Linked DNA regions of Homo sapiens: region 2 is linked to region 1. The links are contacts of gene promoters, found by promoter capture Hi-C in human tissues and cell types (Jung and others, 2019). All regions are on one chromosome and are shown on one strand. Each heading gives the region's core, a stretch centred on a gene start or on the middle of the fragment in contact. The rest is flanking DNA. Distances are from core to core; before and after follow the strand shown.

The links. Contacts are between HindIII fragments. The study calls those that stand out against the background at their distance.
Region 2: a fragment that was not itself captured here is called in contact with the fragment with the promoter of AK3 in region 1 in 1 of the 25 tissues and cell types used here (lymphoblastoid cells).

What each region holds. Positions count from the first base shown.
Region 1 is chr9:4,739,952-4,742,451 of GRCh38, forward strand. It overlaps AK3 (adenylate kinase 3), which reads right to left and starts at 1,251. Exons shown (of 5, transcript NM_016282.4): 1 at 986-1,251. The coding sequence starts at 1,136. RefSeq lists silencers at 781-920, 1,151-1,640. The HindIII fragment of the contact is 7,449 bases long and covers 1-2,500 here.
Region 2 is chr9:4,957,175-4,961,100 of GRCh38, forward strand. No RefSeq gene overlaps it. Among named protein-coding and RNA genes, the nearest start is that of JAK2, 26 kb to the right of the region's middle. The HindIII fragment of the contact is 6,432 bases long and covers 1-3,926 here.

The sequences.
Region 1 (2,500 bases), core at 1-2,500:
TTTCTAGAAGGAAAACTCTGTTCCCCTCCGAAGAATGGGACTGAGGTAGGGAACGAAAGAGGGCGTTGTTTTTTATGCTATGCACGTCTATCCTGTTTGCTATCCTTACAAAAAAAAAAAAAAAAAGAAGGAAAACAAAAGAAAAAGGCCTTGTGGAAGCATTATTTCTATGTAAATGGGTTTCAAAATGAGTTTCAAAACGGGTTCTATTTTGAAAAGTAAGGTCAACATTTTTTGAGAAAAAAACTCCTGCGATTGGCTTTTCAAAAACAACCCTCTTAAGAGAGAATTTACATACCACAAATTCACCCATTGTATAGTGTAGATTGTTAACTGCCTTTCGTGCCGAGCTGTAAGAATTTATTTGGCATGAGAAACAAAATATTTTATAGAACCATGCACAAGAATAGCCTTCGTGTCTACGAAATCTAAGGATATCAAAATGAGATAATTTTATGACTGCAACAAGGGTAAATAATACTTGGCCTTGGGAATATGGGGGAAAGGTCAGAACTACAAGATCTCATAGAGCTTAACCACACCAAAAAAGAAAGAGAAAAGAAAGAAACAAAGAAAACAAAACAGAACGAGCAGACTCTAGCAGGGCTAATGACAGTCTTCCAAAGGCACCAGCACGTTGAACAAGCTGCGGCTCAGCTCGATGGACCCCCAAGAGTGGCTGCCACTGGGAGGACTTGGGCCTCTGAAACAAAGCCCGGTGGTTTCCTTTCATCTCTGAACTTCGAGCTCGACCTAACTTTCCAGTCCCTTCCCCCACCGCCACCCCATAACCCGCCCGAAGCGGCCCACGGAGGCCGGAGGTTTTGGGGCGCAGTCGCTCAGCAGCCCGAGGTCTCTGTCCCGGGCGGCGGGAGGGAAATGCCGCGCCCGCAGCCAGGGACCCGCGTGCCCAGCTTCGGCCCCTCGCCCGCGAAGTCCGACCCGGGTGACAGCGCACGGCCGGCCCTGGGCCCAGAGCTCCCACCTGTGCCCCGCAGCATGTTGTCCCGGAGCAGGTCCCCGCTGGAGAGGTGCTTCAGCTCGAAGTGTGTAGTGATGCGCGACGACACGGTGCCCTTGCCCGAGCCCGGGGCCCCCATGATCACCGCTCGCAGCAGCCGCGCGGACGCCCCCATGGCCGCAGACTGAGGCCCGCACCGCGCGGGTACCAGGGCTTTGGCCTGGCCTGCGCGCTCACCCGCTCGGCAGCCTGCGCCGGCCGGCTAGCAGCGCCACTAGCAGGCGGCTACTGCGGTTCCCCGGCGTTCCCGGAAGTGAGCCGACAGCCCCTGGGGCCGCCCAGACAGCGCGGGACCCCGCTGTTGCGTCCGCCTCTCGGCTACCCCGGCGCACCCCCCGCCCCCGACCGAGCGCCTGTTCCCGCCCAGCCGCGCAAGCCGCGCAAGCCGCGCCCCCTCTGCGCTCGCTCGGCCGCCCAGCTCCCACCTGCGCCTCTCCGCGGCCCCTCTCCACCGGCCGCTGGGCCCGGATCCCTTCGGCGCCCCTCTGCACCCACCCCCACGCGCCCTCCACTCGGCTCAGATCTACCTCCGCGCCTCTCCGCGACCCCGGAACCCCGCGCCCTGTCCGGCCCATTCCCAGCCGGATAGACCGCGCTCCCCTCTGTCCGACCTTGGCAACTCCTGCGCGCCCCCTCCCCACCTCTAGTCGCCCCTCGGAGCCGCTTGGTTTCGGGATCCACCCGCATCCACCCCTCCAACAACCCTTTCGTAGCCCTCGCCCCTAGTCCATAGCAGGCGCTGCCCTACCCAGTCCTTGCCGGACACACCGCGACCCCTTTCGTGCTCCCTTGACAACCCTGGCCCCACCTCCACCTGGCGCCCACTCGAATCCGCCCCTCCCTTCTACCCCCCTGGACCGCCAGACCCCCCGCTTCTGCACCCACTCCCGCCTTCGCCCTTCCCTCCTTCCTCCTCCTCCTCTGCTGCCGAGCGCCCTCTCTTCCCACTCCCTCTCTGTGTAGAATCACAGGGAGTGACCTTGAGCCGAGAGGGCCTACCTCATTTTACAGGAGAGGAAATCCAGCTTCCATTGAGTGAGACTCTTTTATAAATAACGTAAAAGAGTGTGTGAAACTGTGGAGGCAGGCTGTTGTAGATAGGCGGTCGGAAAAGCTTTGAAGAGATGGCATGTGTGCTGAGTGCTTAATTAGAATATGGAAGAGAGAGACATGGGCCCTTCCTATGTCCAGTTTTAGGAAAAGGCCCTAAAACTGGAGGTTTGGCATGTTTCAAGAATGGAAACAGAGGACAAAAACGTTCGAGTGAGTATCATTTTGCCTGTAAAATGGGCATAGAGGAGTAGAATGGAGGAGTTAAAATAATGTAGTACTTAGTGCAATGCCAGCTACGGGGTCAATGTTCAATAATGGTTGTCCATTTATCATCATTGCTTTGTCCCGGACACTATGCTAAGGCAGAAAGAAGGCTCTCTGAAAATAAAACACAGTTACCATTCTCCTCAGAGGTCCAGAACTGAT
Region 2 (3,926 bases), core at 966-3,465, 220 kb after region 1:
CCATACTTATTGCATGCATACACTTTCAGTTTTCTATTACTCTTTGAATAAATTAGGTTATGTCTTTTTAGAAATTATATATATAATTTAGAAATTTTATATTAATAAATAATCGTGTATATTTATAATGTATAGTGTGATGTTTTGATGTATGTATACATTGTAGAATGATTAAATCAAGCTGATTGACATATCCATAACCTCATATATTTTTTTTGTTGTGAGATAATTTAAAATCTACATTCTTAGCAGTTTTCAAATATATATTCAAATATACAATATAATTTTTTCACATAGTATATTTTTACTTCTAGAAAAAGTGTTTTGTTCCTGTTTATAGTTTTTATTTATTTAATGAGTATCCTATCTATCCATTCATTAAAAGCGTATTTTTCCCTCACATTTTTGAGCATAATATAATGGCTGCTTTAAAATTCTAGTCTTTATTCTTACAGCTAGATCATTTTGGGGTCAGGCTCCATTGATTTTTTCTTTGTATTATATCTTTGTGGGACTAGTAATTATGAATTTATCCTGGACAGTCACACCCCCCAAGGCCTGAGCTGAAGTGGCACATCATCCTCTGGGGAATTGGTGCCCTGGCCAATCTGAGCAACTGTGCATCCCAGAGATGAGATGATGTAGTACCATGCGTCCCAGGGAAGTAGGGCAGTGACTGAGCTGAGACACAACACTTATAGGCCAAATAACTCTACTGCCCTGCTTTCCTGGAGCTGGACTAGCTCTAGAGTCTGAGCTACAGAGACTCTGCTCCCTGGGGAGAGCCCTGCCCCTCTATCCAAGAAGTAGAGTCATTGTTCCATGCCCCACAGGGCTCAAAGGACAGCTGTGCTCTGCCATTTTGGGGTACTTGTTGCCATTGATCCTGGTTTCACAGAGTCTAGGATACTGCTGAGTCCCACTATCCCAGGGTCTAGAGTCACCACTGTATGATGCTTCATCCTTTGGGATATGATTTGCTACTGAGCCTTATGACTCATATTCCCAAATTGCAGCCATACCCTGCTCTGTAGGCCCAAGCCTCCAGAGTACCCCTTCTTCCCCTGAGCCAGGCCAGTGCTTTGCCCTGCCCTCCAGGGGTAGAATCACACGCTCCATGGGCCTGAGCTGCCAGAAGATGCCTGAGAGTCACAGAACCTGAGTCTGTGGGCATGATACATCCAACCTGGCCACAGAGAACAAACCTGAACCCTAAGACCCAGGTGCCACAGTGGGGTCACAAGACCCTAAGCTTAGGTCTGTGTGGCCCCTCAGCCACCCTGAGCACCTGCACCTGGAACTCAGAGCCTCTACAACTGCTTATAGGCCATGTCAGACCTGACACTAAGAGGGATCCCTTTGGCTAAGTCTCCATGTTGTGGGGAATCCCAAAATAGGAAGACCCTAAAAACTCTTGCCACTAAAGATATCAACAGCTTTCACTGCTGCTGTCACTGCCCCAAACTTCTTCAGCCTAGGTTAGTGTTAATGAATTAATTCAGCAAAGTTTCAGGATACAAAACCAACATGCAAAAATCAGTAGCATTTCTAGACACCAACAATGTACTAATGGAAAAAGAAATCAAGAATGCAATCGCAGTTATACTAGGTACAAAAACACCCCTAGGAATCAGTTTAACTAAGAGGTGAAAGATCTCTAAAAGGAAAACTATAAAACACTGATGAAAAAATTGAAGAAAACATAAATAAATGAAAAGACATGCCATGTTCATGGATTGGAAGAATTAATATTGTGAAAATAATCATACTGTCAAAAATGATCCACAGATTCAATGCAATCCCTATCAAAATACCAGTGACATTCTTCACAAAAATAGTGAAAATATAACAGCTGTACATATTTACAGGGTACGTGTGATTTTTTATATAGGCATACAATGTTTTGATCAGGGTAATTGGGGTATCCATCACCTCAAGCATTTATTATTTCTTTGTGTTAGGAGCAATTCTGTTGGCCAGTTTCTCTGGTGAAGTGCTTCTGCTGGCCAGAATGCAGAGCCACCACCAAAATTTGCATGTTAGCCACTATGAGCCCCGCCCCAGATGGCCTATCCCTGTTGATAATACCACCACCACCACCTCTGCCTGCCCTATGTTCCCCATGGGGCAAGACAGGAGTGATCTGTCTTCAAAGGGCTCCAGACTGGCGAGGAAGCTGAATGTTTGCCTCCAACTCTCTTTTCCCACAGTGGAAACTGGACCTAGGGGAGTTCTCTCTGTGTGGTGCTGTGCAGGCTTGGGGGAAGTATACTTTTCAGTCAAATTGAAGCTATTCCTTTTACCCTTTGAATGCAACTTGTCTCCATTCTCCTGTCCCAGAGGATGTCTCAGCCTTACTTTCAAGTTCTGAGGTATTCACAAAGGAATTCTTGTCCATGGATAGTTGCTAGTTGGATTTCTGTGAGGGAGACTGGAGCCAAAGAACTATTCTGACAACTTGCTCTTAGATCAAGCTTTCTTGTTTTGATTTCCTTCTCATTTCTTTTTCTGTATATTTTAAAGTTTTTTCCTTAGTGGTTATCTGGAGATTACAATTAATATCTTAACTTTACATCAGTAAAGTTTAAATTAATACCAATACCTTATTTTCAATAGTAGGTAAATACTGTACTCCTTTCCAGCCCCATCCCTTTCCCCTTTCTGTTGTTATTGTCACAATTATATCTTTATACATTGAATGCACATTAACATAGCATTTTAATAATTGTTTTATTCATTTGTCATTTAAATCATATAGAAAAGAGTTATAAACCATATATGCAATACTATTGTCCTTTATATTTACTTATGTAGCTACCTTTACCCTTGTTCTTAGTGTCCGTCCCTTTCACCCTGGAGGAGTCCCTTTAACATTTATTGTAGGGCAGGTCTACTACTGACAAACTCTCTCAATTTTTATTTTATATTATGAATATGTTTTATTTCTCCATTAAAAATAGGCTTTGTTTTCTACTCTGGTGGCTGAGGCACAAGAATCCCTTGAACCTGGGAGGCACAGGTTGCAGTGAGCCAAGATTCTGCCACTGCACTCCAGCCTGGGCAACAGGGTGAGAACGAGAGACTCCATCCTCCACCCCCACCCCTGGCAAAAAAAAGGCTTTGTTTTTAATAGTAGTAGTGAGCATTTTGCATTCCTACCAGCAATCAATGAGTTCCTGTTACTCTACATCCTTGCCAGCATTTGGTGCAGTGAGTGTTTTGGAGTTTGGTCATTCTTATAGGTAGGTAGTAGTATCTTATTGTTTTAATTTGCAATTCCTAGTGAATCTATATGTGTCTTTGTATTTAAAGTGCTTTTTTTATTTTGTAGACAACATATATTTGGGTCTTATTTTCTTTCTTTCTTTCTTTGTTTCTTTTTTGGTGGGGGACAAGGTCTCACTCTGTTGCCTAGACTGTAGTGTAGGGGCATGATCGTAGCTCACTGCAGCCTCCAACTCCTGGGCTCAAGCAACCCTCCTGCTTCAGTTTCCCCAGTAGCTAGGACTACAGGCAAGTGCCACCACACACAGCTAATTTTTAAATTTTGTGTAGAGACGGGGTCTCACTATGTTACCTAGGCTGGTCTTGAACTTCTGGTCTAAAGCAATCCTCCCATCCTGGCCTTCCTAAACACTAGGATTACAGGCATGAGCCACTGTGCACAGCCTAGGATCTTTTAATTCACTCTGGTAATCCTTTTAGTTGGTGTATTTAGACCATTGATTAGTGATTATTAATATAGTTGGATCAATTTCTACCATATTTGTTACTGTTATCCATTTTTCCATTTGTTTTTTTCCTATTTTTGTCTGCCATTCTTTCTCTACCTTTTGTGGTGTTAATTGAACATTTTATATGATTCCATTTTCTCTCCTTTCTTAGCATACCATTCTACTTTTTTAAAGGCTTTTTTTTGGTAGTTC